7 separate regions of the Homo sapiens genome follow, and all the other regions are linked to region 7. Evidence: promoter capture Hi-C in human tissues and cell types (Jung and others, 2019). All regions are on one chromosome and are shown on one strand. Each heading gives the region's core, a stretch centred on a gene start or on the middle of the fragment in contact. The rest is flanking DNA. Distances are from core to core; before and after follow the strand shown. Region 1 holds the start of MIR6885 (microRNA 6885). Region 2 overlaps LOC124904625 (a long non-coding RNA gene). Region 3 holds the start of SLC25A23 (solute carrier family 25 member 23). Region 4 holds the start of KHSRP (KH-type splicing regulatory protein). Region 5 overlaps INSR (insulin receptor). Region 6 has its middle 7.2 kb from the start of MLLT1. Region 7 holds the start of SH2D3A (SH2 domain containing 3A).

Region 1 (2,700 bases), core at 201-2,700, 380 kb before region 7:
TTAGACCCCACCCTGCTCTGCCAATTTGAGCTCCGGGTCACAGACTCTGGCTCTGGCAGCACCCTCTGGGGTGCCCCATTGTGGCCCTAAGGCCTCCTATCTGTTTCCTCCTGAACTGACAGCTCTGAGACGGCCGAGTGGGGTCTGCCCTGGTTACCCCTGAGTCCCCAGCTCCCAGCACAGGGCCTGGTGATATATCCATGGCAAGGCACCCCATTTCCCTCACTTCTGTCCCCAGCCACCACCCAGCCCACTCACCTCTCCCACTCCTCCTCGGCCTCCTCGGCAGTGAGCGTGCGATGCCGGGCCAGCGGTGTGAAATTGTACCAGTTGTGCACGGGGAAGGCCTCGAAGGCCCCGTCGGGGCACTGGGTGAAGATGTAGTAGGACGTGTTCTCTGTTACGCCTCCCTTCTTGATGCCCTTGAACCTGCAGGGAGCCACGGTCATGGCCTGGCCCATAGGGACCAGCCCCAGCCCCCCCGTGTCCCCCCGGGGCCTGCCTCCTTTATGGCACTTGCCATAGGAGGAAGACCAAGAAATGCCCATGAGGCCTGGGCAGGCCCTTCAACCACCTGGGCCTCGTCAATTTCCACATCTGGGGAACAGGGCCGGCGCACCTACCCTGCAAAGTGCTGGGCGTGTGCACATCGGGATCATTTCTGGAAAGACTGTGTGAGATTATCTCAGGAGAGCCCAACCCTGCAGTCAAACTGTCTACATTTGCCTCCAGCTCTGCTATCTGTGGGCCACACCCGGGAAACTGAGGAGCCAAGTGAGAAGATGGGGCGGGAAGGCATGGCCAAATTTTTTTTTTTGAGATGGAGTCTCGCTCTGGCACCCAGGCTGGAGTGCAGTGGCACCATCTCAGCTCACTGCAACCTCCACCTCCCGGGTTCAAGCAATTCTCATGCCTCAGCCTCCCGAGTAGCTGGGATTACAGGTGTCTGCCACCACACCCAGCTAATTTTTGTAGTTTTAGTAGAGACAGGGTTTCACCATGTTGGCCAGGCTAGTTTCGAACCCCTGACCCCACGTAATCCGCCCGCCTCTGCCTCCCAAAGGGCTAGGATTACAGGCGTGAGCCACCGCGCCCAGCCATGGCATGGCCAAATCTGAAGTGGACACCTGGCCCGGGCCACCATTTCCTCAAGCCTAAACAACTGCCCAGCCTCCTTGAGGCCTCTACCTCATTCTTTTCTACCCCAAAGTTCCGGACAGTCTGGGTGAGTGCCTCTTCCCTGCCTACAGCTTTCCAAGGCTCCGCTGGACCCAGCACATCCTGGCACCCACTGCCCTGTGTGAGCTGCCTGTGTCTGTCACTATCACCCAACTGCTGTGCCTGGAGCACCCTTCATCAACCTAACCTGGACCCCTCCTGTTCTGCCCTCAGTCTGCCCCCTCTGAGAGGTCATCTCAAGTGTCATGAGCTCCCAGGGCTGGCCACCTAAGCTTCCTGCATTGTGGCACTCAGAGCTGCCTCAGAGCCAGGCACAAGCACCAACTCAGTGAACTGTCTTCAAAAACACAACCCCAGGGCCTGGGCAGTGGCTCATACCTATAATCCCAGCACTTTGGGAGACCAAGGTAGGAGGATCACTTGACCCCAGGAGTTCAAGACCAGCTTGAGCAACGCAGCAAGACCCCATCTCTACCAAAAATACAAAAATTAGCCAGGCATGGTGGGGCGTGCCTATAGTCCCAGCTACTCAGGATGCTGAGGTGGGAAGATCTCGAGCCCAGGAGTTGGAGCCTGCAGTGAGCTACGATCGCACCACTGCACTCCAGCCTGGGCAACGGAGTGAGACCCTGTCTCAAAATAAATAAGTAGGCTGGGCACGGTGGCTCACGCCTGTAATCCCAGCACTACGGGAGGCCGAGGCGGGAGGATCGCCAAGTTCGAGACCAGCCTGACCAATATGGTGAAACCCTGTCTCTACTAAAAATACAAAAATTAGCTGGGCGTGGTGGTGGCAGGCACCTGTAATCCCAGCTACTCAGGAGGCTCAGGCAGGAGAATAACTTGAACCTGGGAGGTGTGGGTTGCAGTGAGCCAAGATCGTGCTACTGCACTCCAGCCTGGGCGACAGAGCAAGACTCTGTCTCAAAAAAATACAAGTAAGTAAAATAAGATAACATAAATAAATAAATAAATAAATAAATAATAAAATCCTACAGGGATGGAAGTGCCAGCACTTCCACTGCAGCAGTGGGAATCTGAGGTTCAGAGAGGGTACCCCACAAAGTATGTAAGTTGAGGCCTGGGGATGTGGACTGGTCACTAAGCCGGCACCGCCACCGCCCCACCACTTACTTCCTGCCTGATTTGCCGTTGACCCGGAGCAGCCAGGGCTGGTCCTCGGGCCGGAACTCCTTGAGGACGATGCCGTACTTCTTCCTCCGAGCCTCCTCCCGAAGCTTGCGGTTGAACTCACTGCCCGCGCCCGATTCGGGCATCTCCTCCTCTTGGTAGATTTTCTTGTTGCTCAAGTCCCGCTCCAGCCGAGCCTAGGGGAGCAGGAAGCAAAGCCTCTCAGGGTCCCTGGCTTTGCTTGCGCAGTGCCCCCCTCCAGGAACGCCCTTCCTTGCCCTAGGCCAAGCTCTAGATTCTCAAAACCAACTTACCACTTGGCAACAAGGGAGGAGAACGGTAGCCTTTGACAAATCTGGGTAAAGGGAATTTGGGCGAGCCTTGCGCTCT
Region 2 (2,700 bases), core at 29-2,528, 320 kb after region 7:
TGGCCCTCCTGGTTCTCAAGCCTTTGGACTTCACACTGGGGTTTACACTGTTGGCTCCCCTGTTTTCAGGTCTTTGAGCTTGGACTGGAGCAAGACTACCAGCTTTCTTGGTTCTCCAGCTTCCAAACAAATGGCAGATCGTAGGACACCCATAAGCCTGAAGGGACAAAGGAAGAGAACTGCAAGTTGTTGTTCAAGCGAGGAGAGGGCTGCATTCCAGGAGCTGACAGGAGGTCAGTGAGGGGCAACATCCAGCCTCGAGTTCTGCAAGAAATAGTAAGGGTCGGCCAGGCACAGTGGCTCACACCTATAATTCTGGCACTTTGGGAGGCCGAGGTGGGTGGATCACTTGAGATCAGGAGTTCAAGACCAGCCTGGCCAACATGATGAAACCCATTCTCTACTGAAAATACAAAAACTAGCCGGGTGTGGTGGCATGCGCCTGTAGTCCCAGCTATTCAGGAGGCTGAGGCAGGAGAATTGCTTGAACCCGGTAGGTGGAGGTTGCAATGAGCCAAGATCATGCCATTGCACTCCAGCCTGGGTGACAGAGTGAAACTCCATCCCCACCCCCCCACCACCACCAAAAAAGAGAAAGAAATAGCCAGGGCCAGCCCTCCTTGTCCTTCATTCTTCTTATATCATATTTGGGTTCCCCATTTGCCAAACTCAACCAAAAGCCAATAAGGTAAGGGAGTTCGTTGATAGCATTCATAGTAACTAATCATCCCAAGTACAGCAGGGTAGAGGAGGTGAATCTGCTGGGGCGAATGGAAGATACCCAGTATTGGTCACTCCTTTTGCTTCTCAGAATCTACTCATGCCCATCACCTGGATGGAAAGTTCATATCCAAGCCCAGGAATTCTATCAGTTGCTCAGCTACCCTGGGGTGGTGTCCATGCACTGATACTCCCCGATGAAGCCTAACATAGTTGCCAACACCAGTGTTTCCTGTATAGGATGAGGAACAGAGCCATTGGGGAGGAAAGCAAAAGAAATAATTAACCTGGCCAGGCGCAGTGGCTTACCCCTGTAATCCCAGCACTTTGGGAGGCCGAGGTCGGTGGATCACGAGGTCAGGAGTTTGAGACCAGCCTGGCCAACATGGTGAAACCCCGTCTCTACTAAAAATACAAAATTAGCCAGGCACAGTGGTGGGCGCCTGTAATCCCAGCTACTCAGGAGGCTGAGGCAGGAGAATCTCTTGAACCCGGGAGGCGGAGATTGCAGTGAGCCGAGATCATGCCACTGCACTCTAGCCTGGGTGACAGAGTAAGACTTCATCTAAAAAAAAAGAAAAAAGAGAAGTAACCTAAAGGACTTGGTTCCCAGAGGGAAACACTTCCACCAAGAGACACAGTAAGAGTCTCATCGGATGTTAAACTGTGACTTCTATGAGACCAGCACACAAGGAAAGAAGTCACCATACTGACTTAGGTAATTAATGCTATCATCCATAGAATCTGAGGCTGCTGTTACATGATGAGTGCAGGGAGGAAAACATTTGGCATTCACGGAATCCATTGGGATGTCTCTTACTATTCTTTCCCCAATTTTAAAGATAAAAAAATTTTGGCCAGGCGTGGTGGGTCACGCTTGTAATCCCAGCACTTTGGGAGGCCGAGGTGGGCACATCACAAGGTCAGGAGATCGAGACCAGCCTGGCTAACATGGTGAAACCCTGTCTCTACAAAAAATACAAAAAAATTAACTGGGCGCGTTGGCAGGCGCCTGTAGTCCCAGCTACTTGGGAGGCTGACGCAGGAGAATGGCGTGAACCCAGGAGGCGGAGCTTGCAGTGAGCCGAGATCGCGCCACTGCACTCCAGCCTGGGCAACAGAGCGAGACTCTGTCTCCAAAAAAGAAAAAGATAAAAAAATTTCACCAGCTATGTCCTGAGAAGGGCATGGTGAAGACCCCGTAGGCATAAGGATCTGGAGCAGCTCTCCAGGTAAGCCACCTAGACCAGCAGGATCTAGGTGAGAAGGAAATCTAGAATTTTCACCCTAGTCAAGGGTAAAGGGAATCTGGAAGGTGCAAGTAAAGGAGTGTGATAAGCATCAATTGCATCTCTGAGACTTGTTCAGGTGGAAAGGGCTGTCTACAGTTTGTCCCACTGATCTTCCTCTTGTCAGTTTCTCCAGGCAACGGGACCAACCTGGATCCTGAGGGCACTTACTTTAAGAATCCTGGGGCCGGGCACAGTGGCTCACGCCTGTAATCCCAACACTTTGGGAGGCAGAGGCGGGCAGATCACTTGAGGTTAGGAGTTCGAGACCAGCTTAGCCAACATGGTGAAACCTCATTTCTACTAAAAATACAAAAAATAGCTGAGTATGGTGGCACATGCCTATAGTCCCAGCTACTCCAGAGGCTGAGGCAGGAGAATCACTTGAACTCAGGAGGCAGAGGTTGCAGTGAGCCAAGATGGTACCACTGCACTCCAGCCTGGGCAACAGAGGGAGACTCTGTCTCAAAAACAAAACAAACAAAATGAATGCAGGGCATCTGAGTGGCACACATGGTGGACCACAGTAGGTACAGTGGTGGCACTACCCAGCAAAAGAGCTCTTCACCCAATGTGCTAGAAGCCAATACTATGACATCAGATTTTTGAGAAAAGGAAAGGTTTGTATTGCAAGTTAACAAGGAGACAGGAGTCCAGCTCAAATTTGTCTTATGCTGACTTTAAGGCAATA
Region 3 (2,700 bases), core at 156-2,655, 310 kb before region 7:
ATGTCACCTTATGCCTTAGGAACCCAGAGCCCCCAGCGCCTTGAGGAAGGGGATAGAAGACGTCACCCCACTTCTCCCTCAGTCAGCTAACTTCTCAGCCAGATCCCTACAGCCACCACAGGTCTGTGCGGTGGGTGTGAGTGGTCTAGTTTTCCTGGTGAGCAAACTGAGGCTCTGCAAGGTCAAGTCACCAGTTCAAGGTCACAGAACCAGGAAATGGTAACCTCAGTTCTCATCTGTAAAGCCTGTCCTTCCAGCTGTCTCTTGTTTTTAGTTTTTGTTATTTTTTTAGGTATCTCATTCCTGTTGAACCCAGCTGCCTCTTAAAAAACCCTGTCCACATGGGGGACCCAGGGGTTCCCTTTGGAGGAAGCCCTGGGCGATGTGGGGCAGGAGAGAACCAAGCGGAGTGGCTGAGGCCTTGGTTTTTCCCATTTGGGAAGTGGGAGGTTGGACTGCTCTCAGGGTTGCTGTGGTTCTCTTAGAGCGATCTGGGGCTACAGGTGTGGGAAGGACCTGCAAAGTGGAGGTGGGGGCAGCGGGAGGAAAGTCTTGTTATAGGTGCATTCCCAGCTGCGGGTGACCGCAGACAGGATTGGGTCCCTGGCTGGGGCAGCCCGGGACAGTGAGCCAGGCCCGTGAACGGCCCATGAAAGGGCAGGCCAGGGAATGTAAACACAGGGATCGGGGCAGCTGCAGGCCAGGGCAGTAGGTGCCCAGAGGATGGAGGGTGTGTCTCCTGGAGGTGAGAGCAGGGCACGTCATGGGCTGTGCAGTCTGGAGGAGGGTGTGTCCCGGGCAGTGGGCAGGAAAGCGCCCCCATCTCTTCCCAGGCAGACGCCCCCTGCCCCGCAGCAGGGGGATCGGGTGTTGGCCGCGGAACTGCAGGCTTGGGGCCTCGGCGTCCCTGTCTTGAGCGATCCCGTTAGGCCAAACACGAGTGGGTAGGGGGAACGAGACAGAGACACAGGTTCTGGAGTCCAGCCACAGGTAGTCCCTGGTGGCTCCGGCCGCCCAGTTCAGGGGCTTGGGTAACCGGGAGCGGGCGGGGCCGGGAGGGGAGGAGGTCCCTGGGGGTGGGGGTACCTGTTGGGCGCCGGGGTCTGGGTTGCCCCCGCCCAGCCTGGCCAGCCCCTGGCGCAACTCGTGCACGTCCACGCGGCCATCCTTGTTACTGTCCAGCTCCTCGAACAGGCGACCCCAGCGCTGCCGCCGCTCCGCGTCGCCCGGGCTCCCCCGCATGGCGCCCGCCCGGGGGGGAGGGGAGGCCCGGCAGCGGCGGCCTCAGTGGGGGCTTCGCGGCTCCCCCTCCCCCCCCGGGACCCCGCAGGGTCAGCTCCCGCGGCCGCCGGCTCCGCAGCCTCCGCGCAGTCCGCTCGGCTCTGGCACTTGCGGGAGGTGGTGACGGCTAGCCGTCGCCGCCCGCGCCAGAACTTGCGTCTCCTCCCCCGACCTGCATTGGGGGGAGGGGACCGAGGGCGGAGCTGGGGGCGTGGGGAGGGAATGTCTGGGATGGTCTGGTATTGCACAGCCGAGGAACACCAGAGTTCCTTCTGGGAAGACGGGCTAGGGAGCTCAGTGGTCTCAGGTCTGGTTTCAGAGTTCCGCCTCTGCGTGCCTCAGTTTACCCTTTCCCCCTTTGCCCAAGGGGGCAAGGTAGAGCGCTGTCGGGGATTGGGTTTCATAATCCCCTTCCACTTGACCTCCCCGCCACACCCACTAATCTTCAGGAACTCAAGTTCTCGCTTTTCCCAGACGCACGCAAGAACCGTGCACCATCTCGCTCGCTCTCTGCCCGCCCGCGCCTTACACCTTCCCCGCTCGGCCGCAGAAACAGAAGATCCAGGAGCGATGCTCTCCCACTGTCCCTTCTTCCCGCCCGCGCGCTTCCTTTCTCGGTTCCCACTCTGACTGGGAAACAGAAAATCAACGCGCGGCGCGGCTGCAAAGTCGGTTTCCTATTGGTCAGCGCCTCCTGGGCTGAGCCCGCCCGCCCCGCCTCTTCTCCCACCTAGGCGGGGCCTCCCCGCAGACCCCCGACTGCCTCCAGCCCGCAGTCCCACCGCCTGCCAGGAGATCTTAAAGGGGCCGCGGCCGCAATCAGACGCTGAGCGGCGTGGGGAGGGGGTGGCTCAGTGACCCGGGCGCGGGGTTGAGGATCCCAGTGGTCGAGCGCTGGAGGCAGGGCCCCAGCCTGTCGCACTCGCTGCACCTGCGGAATGTCCCTACTGCTAGTTTCGGGCGCAGTTTCTCGATCCACCATTAGGGGGAAGGGAGCCCAGACCACTTGACAGCGAATACTCGATAACAAATCTCACTTTGATTCAGTGCTTTGCACATGCCAGGGCTTTTACTCACCTCTCGAGTCGTCTTTGCCAAAACCCTATAAGGTAGGTGGTACTGGCGTTCGCACTTTGCAGATAAGGAAGCGGAGGTTAAGTCATTCTCCCCAGTCCTGATGACCACTAAGGGGCAAAACAGGGTTTAAAGAGATCTGGGATCCTTAACCATCACTCTATACCCTAGAAAGAATTAATTATCTTTTTTTTTTTTTTTTTTTTGAAACGGAGTTTCGCTGTTGTTGCTCAGGCTGGAGTGCAATGGCGCGATCTCGGCTCACTGCAACCTCCGCCTCCCGGATTCAAACGATTCTTTTGCCTCAGCCTCCCGAGTAGCTGGGATTACAGGCGCCCGCCACCA
Region 4 (2,700 bases), core at 106-2,605, 340 kb before region 7:
CCCTAGAGCCAAAACTCATGGGATGCCCACAGGGGGCCTGTCCCCACCAACTGACAGCACCAGCTTCCTCCCTTCAAGCTGTCCCAGAATCAGACGGTTCCATGGGCAATAAGACCAAATGCACGCTAGAACCCACCCAACTCCAAGGGTGAGAGAGACGACAGAGGGCCAGAACACAGGCGTTCACTTAACGGGACCTCCCACCTTGGGAGGAGCCAGTCTCTAGCCCCGGAGGCATTGGGACAGCCCAGGAGCCGGTCGGCGGCAAAGTCCTCCCATTCTACCGACCCCCACCCCTCCAGGCCATGGGGAGGCTGCAAATGGAGCTGGAGAGGTCAGTCCTAGCAGCATGTGACACTTCCTTGTCATTACGCCTCAATACACGGGGGTGGGAGACCCTCCCTTCTTTCCCCCAAAGAGACAGACCACGCTTTCAAGCCACCAAAGCATCCAAGAGCCAGTCCCCATGCTCGTCTTCCCCATTTCGCCCAAGTGCTCAGCCCTAGACAGGTCCCCATCCACTTTCCCGACTGAAGAGGAAGGACTGTCCCTCCCACCCCCACAATGTCCCTTTCTCCTAGAGAGGGGACAGAAATGGGACTGGGTTGGGGGCAAACACTGCCCTTTGCCCTGATATGGAGGGGAGAGTAAAGGCCCTCCGCCCGGGAAGGTGGACCCCTGCCTCCAGGCATGTCCTAAGGCCGGGGGGCTAAGGGGGGGGTCCCAAAAGTGCGTCTCCGAGCTCCGGGGCGCCTGCACACCCAGGCGCCGCTCCTGGTGACCCCCAGTGCGCCCCTACTCCCTGCAGGGGGGTCACCCGTTGGGATCCCACTCGAGGCGCAGCGGGAGGGCCAGGCCCCCGCCTACCGCCCACGTGACCCCGCGACGGCCCCGGCCCCCCTCCGCGACCCTGCGCGCGCGCGCGCACGTGACCCCCGCCCCCTCCCCCGCCTGCGCGCGCGCGCGAGCGCGCCCCTCAGGCCCTCGGCCTCCTCACCTGGCGGGCCCGCTGCACGGCGTCGGCGAAAGCGTCCTTGCGGATTCCCGGGCCGCCTCCGCCGGGTGGCTGAGAGGGGCCCCCGGCCGACCCCCCGCCCGGGCCGCCGCCGCCGGGACCGCCGCCGCCCCGGTCCCCCGCGCCTGGCGGGCCCGGCGGAGGGCCTCCCCCGGCGCCTCCGGCTCCCCCGCCCCCGCCGGCGGGCGGCGGCGGCCCGGGCGGGGGTCCTCCCGTGCTGTAGTCCGACATGGCGCGGCGGGGCCGGGCCTGGCGCGGAGGCTGAAGCTGAGGAGGCGGCGGCGGCGGCGGCGGCTCAACGCGGGAACAAGGCCTCGCTCCACACGGCCGCGGAGCACTCTGGGAACCCAGCCGCTGGGAGGACGACGAGGGGGGAGAGAGTCGCCCCTCCCGCCGCCGACGTGACGGACGACTCCGGCGGGCCAATGGGAGGCAGCCGCCGCACCCCGGACACCAATCGCGAGCTCTGTAGGAGGTGGCCAATCGGAGTGCAATGAGGGGCAGTGGGCGGGAGGCTCAGAGTGACTGACAGCTCTCAGAGGCAATAGCTGCGAGCTGCCCGTGCTGGGCGGGCAAATGAAGGAGATCTGAGAAGGCAGGAGGCCCAATGAAACGCGAGTGCCAGATTCGCGGGGCGGCTTCAGAATTAGATTGACGGTTCTGAAGAGTCACGTGGACTGTAAGGCCGGGCCTAGTGGAAGACTCCTATGGACCGGCTGGGTGGGCGTTAGGTTTGATAGTCGTGGACACAAGCCAATGAATGCACGTGAGAGGTGGTGCTTGTAAAGATGGGCAGCCAATTAATCCAATTCCTGACGAGTTCTGGGTGATGAGGTTGGCTTTGGACTTTAATTGCTTCCCTTGTTAACCAGAATCCTTTTCTATCCCTGACTTCTAAGCCAATGGCTGAGCGACATGGGTGGGTGTTCGGTGACTGACACTGGTCTGGACAAATGGGAATGAAGGAAATCAAAGCGCCCACTTTTGGTGGGAGCCAGTGGAAGCGCCGCTGCATTGGGGCGGAGTCGGCCACCAGACAGCGAGGGGATTAGCGGGAACTGTAGTGAATGGCAGCCGACGTGGGCGGTGGCAATCGGCTGCCCGAACTCAGGCCTGATGTCTGGGTTAGCTCACCGGCAGCCTGGTTGGGTAGGCCCGGCACGTGGCCCGCTTGAAGCCTTAGAGATCGAGCGCTTCCGGAGGTGGGGAGGCCGGAAAGCAGGAAACTCGGGATCCCCCGGGCCTTCTTCTCTCTCGACCCCCCATCTAGAGCGTCCAGTTCTCTTGCAGGACTCAAGGAACCAGCCCCACTCACGAGTCCAGAACCGTTCCAACAACCGGGATCGAGGGATCACAGCCTCGATCACACCCCTCACTTCACACCCCTCACTCCCTTCGCCTAAGGCCCTGGGATCCAAGCCTCAAGCTCCTATCCTAGGTCCTCACTTCCTCTCCTGGACACAAATTCCCATTCAGGACCCAGAGGCCCAAGGTCCCCAGCTCCCCTACTGGGTCCAGGGATCTCATGCACCCAGTTCCACTCCTAGGCCCAAGTATCCAGACACGTTCAGCAAAAACCATCTCTTTATTCCTTGTTGTGTGACATGTTCACCATTTCGCCCTGGAGCCAGGACGACCCACAAGGGGCCAGACTGGAGTCCACGTTTCTTGTCTCAGGCTGCACC
Region 5 (2,700 bases), core at 108-2,607, 430 kb after region 7:
ACTGCCAATGTTGGCCAGGTGTGGTGGCTAACACGTGTAATCCCAGCACTTTGGGAGGCTGAGGCAGGAAGATCACTGGAGATCAGGAGTTCGAGACCAGCCTGGCCAACATGGTGAAACCCTTTCTCTACTAAAAACACAAAAATTAGCTGGGTGTGGTGGCGCATGCCTGTAATCCCGGCTACTTGGGGGCTGAGGCAGGAGAATCACTTGAACCCAGGAGACAGAGGTTGCAGTCAGCCAAGATCTCACCACTGCACTCTAGCCTGGGTGACAGAGTAAGACTCCGCCTCAAAAAAAAATAAAAATAAATAAATAAATAAATAAATAAAAGCCAATGTTGGGAAAGACACAGAAAACTGAGGAATTGTGCGGACTTAAGAGACAGCAGCATTCAAATGCAAAGTGTGATCCTAGATTGGAACCTTCGCCTAGGAAAAAAAATCTATATAGGGCAATATTGAGACAACAGATAAGATTATAGAAGACATTGGATTAAAATACTGTATCAATGTTAATTTCCTGATTTTGACAACGGCACCAGTACCATCATTATGTAAGAGAACTTTCTTTCTTTTCTTTCTTTTTTTTTTTTTTTTTGTTTGAGACGGAGTTTCGCTCTTGTTGCCCAGGCTGGAGTGCAATGGCACCATCTCGGCTCACTGCAACCTCTGCCTCCCAGGTTCAAGCGAACCTCCTGCCTCAGCCTCCCGAGTAGCTGGGATTACAGGCATGTGCCACCACGCCTGGCTAATTTTGTATTTTTAGTAGAGACGGGGCTTCTCCAAGTTGGTCAGGCTGGTCTCGAACTCCTGACCTCAGGTGATCCGCCCGCCTCAGCTTCCCAAAGTGCTGGGATTACAGGCATGAGCCACCACGCCTGGCCTCAGAACTTTCTTGTTCTTAGGAAATATCCACTGAAGAATTAAGGAGTATGTATCATGCCTGCAACTAACTCTCAAATAGTTCAGGGGAAAAAAATGTATATAATGTGTGTGCATAAATATATTAGAAAGGTAATAAAACAAGTAGAATAAAACGTAAACAATTGATTGATCTAGATATAATCTTGCAATTTTTCCGTAAGCTTGAAACGACATCAAAACAAAAAGCGACCAATTTGTCCAAAGCAAGGTTAAAAGCCAGAGAAATAGGAGACGCAGCGCTGCATTGTTAAATGACTTGCGCACAAAAATCCAGTCACTCTGACACTTTTTTGTTTGCCTCCCTTTTAAAGTTCAAATTAGTTTGGGTTTTTCTTAATTAAGAAGGTATGTGATAAAAAACAAAACAGAAAATACAGAAACCACCATTAAATGATTCGATAGCTCCACATATGTTAATAACATTTTGTTACATTCTTTCCAAAGCTTAAAACTTTCCGAAGTTTAAAAAAAACTTAAAAAAAAAAAGTTTAAAAACCTTTCCAAAGTTTAAAAAAAAAATACTCAAGATTTATGATTCCAAAAATTACTGCTTTCCAGAAATTTCCAAACGGAACAGTTGCGTCATGGGCCTGCTGGTACATTGACCACAGGGCCCCGCGGCTCTCCCTATAAGTGTGAGTTTTATAAACTCCTTAAAGTAATTTATTTTGTTTCCATTCAAGGCCTTTCTCTCCCACACTGGCCCCAGACCCTGACCTCAGAGGTTCGAGTCCCCGGAGCCAAATTCCTCTAGTTGGAATCTAGTAAATGATTTAATGGCAAAGGGGCAGGGGTTGGGGGCAGCCAAGGAGGTGAACTTTTGACAGCTTCGTGGTCAGCAGCGACGACCGCAGGAGCGCGTGTCCTTGAAGCGGGGAAGCGCCCCTTTTCCTTGCCTGACAATACCGCCCCACACGCGATGACGCCTTTGGAATAGAACTGCGCAGCTCTTTGGAGACATACGGCGCATATAGAGGCTAGAAAGGGAACAGAGTACCAGAGGGCCTTCCCGCTTCGGGAGCCGCAGGCTTCTTCTCTTCGGAGAGAGAGTGAGTGAGTGAGTAAGCGAGTGAGTGAGTGAGTGGGGAGGGAGTGAGTCCGTCCACGGGGGCGGGCCCTCTCCATGCTGCGGATCTCTTAGGAGATATACTGCGCACGCAGAGGCCCGGAAGGAGGCGGGGTCCCAGGGGTCTCCTCGCTAGAGCAGCCCCAGGATTGGCAGGTTCCAGAGTGGGAGTGGGGGTGTGTGTGTGTGTGTGTGTGTGTGTGTGTCAGGTTCCAGAGTGGGAGTGTGTGTGTTTGGGTGTGTGTGTGTGTGTGTGTGTCAGATTCCAGAGTGGGAGTGTGTGTGTGTTTGGCAGGTTCCAGAGTGGGAGTGTGTGTGTGTGTTTGGCAGGTTCCAGAGTGGGAGTGTGTGTGTGTGTTTGGCAGGTTCCAGAGTGGGAGTGTGTGTGTGTGTGTGATTGGCAGGTTCCAGAGTGGGAGTGTGTGTGTGTGTGTGTGTGTGTCCCCAGGATTGGTCGGTTCCAGAGTGGGAGAGAGAGCGAGAGAGAGAGAGAACGAGAGAGAGAGAGAGAGAACGAGAGAGAGTGTGTGCGCGTGTGTGTCTGTGCAGCCCCAGGATTGGTCGGTTCCAGAGTGAGAGTGTGTGTGTGTGTGTGTGTGTGTGTGTGTCCCCATGGTGGGAGTGTGTGTGTGTCCCCATGGTGGGAGTGTGTGTGTGTCCATGGTGGGCGAGCGTGTGTGTGTGTCCATGATGGGCGTGTGTGTGTGT
Region 6 (2,700 bases), core at 162-2,661, 480 kb before region 7:
GAGGCTGCAGTGGGCTATGATTGCACTGATGGCAGTGGCTGGCCATCTGGACTGGCCACCACCATCTTACTAGCTGCAGCACAGAGGAATGGCCAGGACTGCATGTTCCATAGATCTGGCAGAAGCTGGTGACAAGTGGGAGCCCCGCCCCTTCTGCATTGGGGTGGGAGCTCCCTGGGTGGTGCTGCAGCCACTAAAGCCATGGCTACAGACCTGGGCATTACTGGGCTCTCAGGCCCAGAGGCAGGCAGGAGCCCCACCCTCCCAGGTGCAGCTGCAGCTGTCCAAACTGCAGCTGCAGATTAGGAGTCCCTGCACTCCTAGGGGCCCGGGAAGGTTCCCCCTGCCCTTGCAGGCTCAGAAATGTCTGCTTCCACTGCTTGGCTTCTCCCTGCTGTTGGTGCCCACTCCATCTCAAAGCAAAGTTGGGGCTGAGCCCCAGAGCTGTTGCAGCCAGGCAGGGTGTGCACAAACTTGGGGCAGCACAGACACACCAGCCCCCTGCTACCTCAGCCCCATCTGGACTTCGGGCACCAACGAGCATAGGAGGGAAGCCAAAGGGGGGGCTGAGGGCAGCTCAGTGCTGACCTGCATGCGCCCCTTGGCACCTATAGCCTGGGCACCATCAACAGCAGCAGGAGGTAGACAGGTTCCTGGATGGAAGGGGATGGGTCCCTGGTGAGGCCCCACCTTCAGGCCAGGGAGGGCCTGAAGGCTAGGGGCTGGGCTACCAGCCCCATGGACTGGAGTGGAAACATGTGATGCCTTTTCCAGGCCTGCTCATGGACCAATCAGCATGCATTTTTTCCCCTCTGAGGCCCATAAAAGCCCTGGGCTCAGCCAAAGCTGGGCAGATATCGGGATGACCAGCTTCAGAGAGCAGCTACCAACTCCAGGGCCTCCTCTCTGCTGAGAGCTGCAGAGACGTCGGGACTACCAGCTGCAGAGAGGAGCAACTCACTCTAAGGCCTCTTCTTTGCTAAGAGCTGGGATGAACATGGGATGACCTGCCTGCAGAGAGAAGCAACTCACCCCAGGGCCTCCTTCTGCTGAGAGCTGCAGGGAATGATGGCACAACCTGCTTGCAGAGAGGAGCTACCCACTCCAGGGCCTCCCCTCTGCTGAAAGCTGGGCAAGCAATGGGACAACCTGCCCGCAGAGAGAAGCTACCCACTCCAGGGCCTCCTCTTCACTGAGAGCCACAGAAAATGACAGGATGGACTGCCTGCAGAGAGGAGCTACCCAATCCAAGGCCTCCTCTGAGCTACTCTGTCGCTCAATAAAGCTCCTGTTCACCTTGCTCACCCTCCACTTGTCCACATACCTCATTCTTCTTGGGCACAGGACAAGAATTCAGGAACTGCTAAACAGCAGGGCTGAAAGAGCTATAAAACCCACAGGGCTGAAACATGCGCCTTGCCATGTTGTGGGTGAAGAGAAGGAGAGAAGAGCTGTGGCCCTTCAGGGACCTAGGAGCTCCCTGAGCCAGGGCTGTGACTCCCTCTTTGGACCCCAGTGTTTCCTATAGTCTCCAAGCTTCTGAGTGCCACTGCATTCCCTGGTGGCAGCTGTGGAAGCTGCTTATGGTGCACCTGGTCTGGCCGCAGCCTCTCAGAGAGCCAGGGCCCCTGCCAGCACCTGGAGCTGTCTGCTCTGCTGCAGCAGCTGGTGTGCCTGGCTGCATGCAGTGGCCGGACCTCATGCTTGCTTGCTTGCTCACACACCCCTCGCCCCTCCATGCCTGGCTTGCCCTTGGCAAGTGTGAGATCCAGGCTAGTAGTGTGAGCTGAGCACAGCCTGCCAGGCCGTGTGGGTGGAATGAGCCCAGTGGGCCCGAGCAAAACTCAGGCAAAGGTGCCACCAGCCACAGAGGTTTCCAACCAGAAATCAACACCCCAAGGATCCTGCAACATTTTTGAGGGCTCGTCCAGGATCTGCAGAAGGGTGAGTGAAAGGGTGAGTAAAAGCAGATCTGCTCTTTCTGTCCCTTTTTAGGAGTCCCTAAACTCAACAATAGCTAAAATGAAAGAAAAACACCAGGCCTCTATTAGCCAGTTAAAATTAACTAGCAGAGATGCTGGACTTAAAACATGGATGATAGCCTTGCTGGGGAGGACACTGTCAATCCCTCATCATCCTCAAGTGTTGAGAATGTTGGGTTTGTTTCAATCCCGTTTCCTTCCATGAGGTCTACCTGTTACATGGGACCAGAAGGAGGTCCTGGGGCAACTGAGGGTATCTGGCTGAGGCTATGCCTCAGTGTTATCCAAAGGCCCCTGGACTAACTCCTGAAACTCAAGTCCCTAAGCGCCCATTAGGGTGTTGTTGGCACTAGGACCTCCAGTCTCCTATCTTTCTTTCTTTCATGGTTGTCAAGGTTCTTATCTCTTCTTTTTTTTTTTTTTTTTTGAGATGGAGTCTTGCTCTGTCGCCCAGGCTGGAGTGCAGTGGCATGGCATGATCTTGACTCCTGACCTTAGGTGATCCACCCACCTTGACCTCCCAAAGTGTTGAGATTACAGGCATGAGCCACTGCACCCAGCTCCTATCTCTTCTTTATATACAACATTAAATTTCTGTGCGCACGCGTGTGTGTGTGTGTGTGTGTGTGTGTGTGTTTGAGACAGAGCCTTGCTCTGTCGCCCAGGCTGGAGTGCAGTGGTGTGATCTTATCTCACTGCAACATCTGCCTCCAAAGTA
Region 7 (2,700 bases), core at 36-2,535:
GCCAGCTGCCAGTGCCGCATACCTGAAGCCAGGTGTGTCTTTGCAATGCCTGCGCACTTCCTGTTTGTCACCTGGACCAGGGCTAGCCTCGGTCGCAGAGTTTCCCAACCCCAAGTTCCTGTCTTGTGTCTCCCTTAGTGAGAGTGAAGTTGAGTCAATGGCAAGGTTCTGGTTAGTTTGAGGACACAGGGTGGCCATAGGTCAGCCAAAGGCCAACTAAGCCATCTCCTGCCTCTGAGTCCTTTGGGATCATTTATTCGGGCACGGAAGAGAAGAAACGGGCAGAATCAGGAATCAGACCAAGCATAGAGAGAGGAGAGAGGGGATTATTCATGTTCCAGTTGGATCATAAACATGTGTCCACGTGTGGGGAGGACGTGGAGGGTGGGAACCACCAGCACAGGCAACACAAACACAGATGTAGGCAGGACTCGCTTTTGACGTTGGACGACCATTGCTGGAGCACTTGCTGTGCACCAGGCTCTGTTCTAGGACCTAGAGATACAGTGACTAAGGAGATTAAAGCTCGGCACCACCCTGCCCTCCAGAGCTTGCAGTCGGCTGCGCAAGACAGACTGCAAACGAGCACAAGATGAATGGAGAAGACAGACCATTTCTAAGAGTTATCAATGAAAGTGATAAGCCAGGGAGATGTGATAGAGGAGGCTGGACAGGACAGCCTCTCCTATAAAGTGACATTGGAACTGAGACCTCAGTACAGAAGGAGGCAGTTAGGCAAAGATTTGGAGGAGTCGCCTGGGTGAGGGGTACAGTAAGGGTAAAGGCCTGGAGCTGAGATGGACTTGCTTTTTACATTTTACATCATCAAGGCGGCTGGTGTAGCCGGAATACGATGAGGAAGGAGTAGATAGGAGGGCAATGAGGTTGGAGAGATCAGGAGGAGAGACTAGGCAAAAACTAGTGGACTTTGAATTTTAATCTCTATGACCCAAGGGTTTTAAGTGAAGGAGGGGCCCGATCTGATTCGCCGTTTAAGAGGATCACTCAGGCAAAAATGGAAACAATGGCTTTCTGTGCTGCACAGGAAATACACTTAGAGAGGCACGCCCAGGTGAGCCCGAGCACACCGACACGCGTAACGCACAGCGACCCTCTCATTCGCGAGGCGACCTCTTCTACCCCAGATCCTCCCTGCGAGCCGGTGACCCCACCTGGAAAGAGAGGACTCCCCATCCCAATAATCCTGGTTCTGGATCTGCCCTGGGGCTCCACTCACCTGGGCAGGACCCGCGGGGCTCCCACGAGGCTGGGTCCAGGCGGAAGCTGAGGCTCCGCGGCTCCGGGCTGCTGTCACCCCCGCCCTCCACCTTGCCACCGCCCCAGCCTTCCCAGACCACACCTAGTGGGAACTCAGCCCAGTTACCTGACCACACCTCCTGCAGACCCCGCCCCCTGCGGGCCCCGCCTCAAACTAACTTCCCAGGCCCTTGCTCCGCCCCCTTAAAACCATTTTTTTTGCTACTAGCCACGCCTCCTTCTGCATCGCACCGCTTTCTCCATAGACCCCGCCCACTAGGGGAGCACCACGCATCCTTTCCTGCCAGTGGCCCCTCCCCTTGTATATAGCCACGACCACCGCCGAATGACTACGCCCACCCGCAGCCACCTCCTTCTCAGCCCCGCCCCTTAGGGCAATAGAAGAAATTTCATCCCAACGTTCCCGCCCCTTAGAACCCTGCCCCTCCCTTCCACCCAGGCGGCCCCAAGCACCCATGGCCCTTTGGGACCAGGGCGGGGTGGAGTGGGGTGCCTCTCTCCCCTCCCCGCCAAGGCTCCGGGTCAGGGCAGGGCAACTCCCTCGGGCTCTTACGCCAGGCTGGGGTAGCTGCGGCAGCTGTGACGTAAGGAGGGGTACGCTTCCTCCAGACCGCCCTCCCGGATTTTCCGGAAAGAAGCCCCATTTAGGTGGCGGGTTTTGTGGAGAGACGTCCGGGAAAACGCGACAGCTTCCTTCAGTGACAGCACGCTGGAGCGGGGCGGGACTTTGGTGGAGGTGGAAGGCAAATCATTCAGGTGGTTTCCCAGGTGGGAAGAAGGGTGGGGGGGACTTCCATCGTGATGCCTGGAGACGAACAAGAGAAAAGGTGACAGGGACCTAGTGCAAGAGAGAGGACTCTTTGGCCACGTTTATTGATGAGTTCCTCATATTAACATCAGTCTTGTCTTGTAGAGACAGGGTCTTGCTATATTGCCCAGGCCGGAGTGCAGTGGTGATCATAGCTCACTGTAGCCTCAACCTCCTGGGCTTAAGCTATCCTCCCGCTTCAGCCTTCCAAGCAGCTGAGACTAAAGGTGCACACCACCACACCCAGCTGATTTTATTTTATTTTTTGTAGATGTGGCGTCTTACTATGCTGCCCAGGCTCTGGAACTCCTGGGCTCATGCGAACTTCCTGCCTTGGCCTCCCAGAGCGCTGAGATTACAAGCAAGCATGAACCACTGTGCTTGGCCCCAGTAACCACAGTCTTAAAAGCAGTAGCAGCAGCTAACATTTATTGAGCACTTACTGTACACAAGGGCTGTTCTGTCAACTTGCCTTTATTTTATTTTATTTTATTTTTTGAGATGGAGTTTCACTCTCGTTGCCCAGACTGGAGTGCAGTGGCAGCAGTCTCAGCTCACTGCAACCTCCACCTCCCCGGTTCAAGCGATTCTCCGGCTGTAGACTCCCGAGTAGC

The links. Contacts are between HindIII fragments. The study calls those that stand out against the background at their distance.
Region 1: a fragment that was not itself captured here is called in contact with the fragment with the promoter of SH2D3A in region 7 in 1 of the 25 tissues and cell types used here (spleen).
Region 2: a contact is called between a fragment that was not itself captured here and the fragment with the promoter of SH2D3A in region 7, in 2 of the 25 tissues and cell types used here (lymphoblastoid cells and thymus).
Region 3: the fragment with the promoter of SLC25A23 here is called in contact with the fragment with the promoter of SH2D3A in region 7 in 2 of the 25 tissues and cell types used here (bladder and spleen).
Region 4: a contact is called between the fragment with the promoter of KHSRP here and the fragment with the promoter of SH2D3A in region 7, in 4 of the 25 tissues and cell types used here (IMR-90 fibroblasts, dorsolateral prefrontal cortex, heart right ventricle and 1 more).
Region 5: a fragment that was not itself captured here is called in contact with the fragment with the promoter of SH2D3A in region 7 in 1 of the 25 tissues and cell types used here (lymphoblastoid cells).
Region 6: a fragment that was not itself captured here is called in contact with the fragment with the promoter of SH2D3A in region 7 in 2 of the 25 tissues and cell types used here (IMR-90 fibroblasts and lymphoblastoid cells).

Annotation. Positions count from the first base shown.
Region 1 is chr19:6,387,131-6,389,830 of GRCh38, forward strand. GTF2F1 (general transcription factor IIF subunit 1) reads right to left here. Exons shown (of 13, transcript NM_002096.3): 4 at 2,314-2,507; 5 at 259-429. MIR6885 (microRNA 6885) reads right to left here and starts at 2,573; the gene lies at 2,508-2,573. RefSeq lists an enhancer at 1-402. The HindIII fragment of the contact is 4,380 bases long and covers 1-2,700 here.
Region 2 is chr19:7,089,295-7,091,994 of GRCh38, forward strand. LOC124904625 (a long non-coding RNA gene) reads right to left here. Exons shown (of 3, transcript XR_007067110.1): 3 at 1-157. Among named protein-coding and RNA genes, the nearest start is that of ZNF557, 21 kb to the left of the region's middle. The HindIII fragment of the contact is 5,869 bases long and covers 1-2,700 here.
Region 3 is chr19:6,458,387-6,461,086 of GRCh38, forward strand. It overlaps SLC25A23 (solute carrier family 25 member 23), which reads right to left and starts at 1,406. Exons shown (of 10, transcript NM_024103.3): 1 at 1,087-1,406. The coding sequence starts at 1,242. RefSeq lists silencers at 1,158-1,217, 1,268-1,407, 1,918-2,097. The HindIII fragment of the contact is 25,958 bases long and covers 1-2,700 here.
Region 4 is chr19:6,423,456-6,426,155 of GRCh38, forward strand. KHSRP (KH-type splicing regulatory protein) reads right to left here and starts at 1,356. Exons shown (of 19, transcript NM_001366299.1): 1 at 998-1,356. The coding sequence starts at 1,246. It overlaps SLC25A41 (solute carrier family 25 member 41), which reads right to left. Exons shown (of 7, transcript NM_173637.4): 7 at 2,582-2,700. RefSeq lists an enhancer at 1,664-1,783. The HindIII fragment of the contact is 26,210 bases long and covers 1-2,700 here.
Region 5 is chr19:7,195,349-7,198,048 of GRCh38, forward strand. The region is part of intron 2 of INSR (insulin receptor); the gene reads right to left. Among named protein-coding and RNA genes, the nearest start is that of INSR, 98 kb to the right of the region's middle. RefSeq lists enhancers at 1,988-2,187, 2,000-2,700 and a silencer at 2,668-2,700. The HindIII fragment of the contact is 6,200 bases long and covers 1-2,700 here.
Region 6 is chr19:6,285,779-6,288,478 of GRCh38, forward strand. No RefSeq gene overlaps it. Among named protein-coding and RNA genes, the nearest start is that of MLLT1, 7.2 kb to the left of the region's middle. The HindIII fragment of the contact is 3,632 bases long and covers 1-2,700 here.
Region 7 is chr19:6,766,150-6,768,849 of GRCh38, forward strand. SH2D3A (SH2 domain containing 3A) reads right to left here and starts at 1,286. Exons shown (of 10, transcript NM_005490.3): 1 at 1,238-1,286. RefSeq lists a silencer at 1,765-1,824. The HindIII fragment of the contact is 38,619 bases long and covers 1-2,700 here.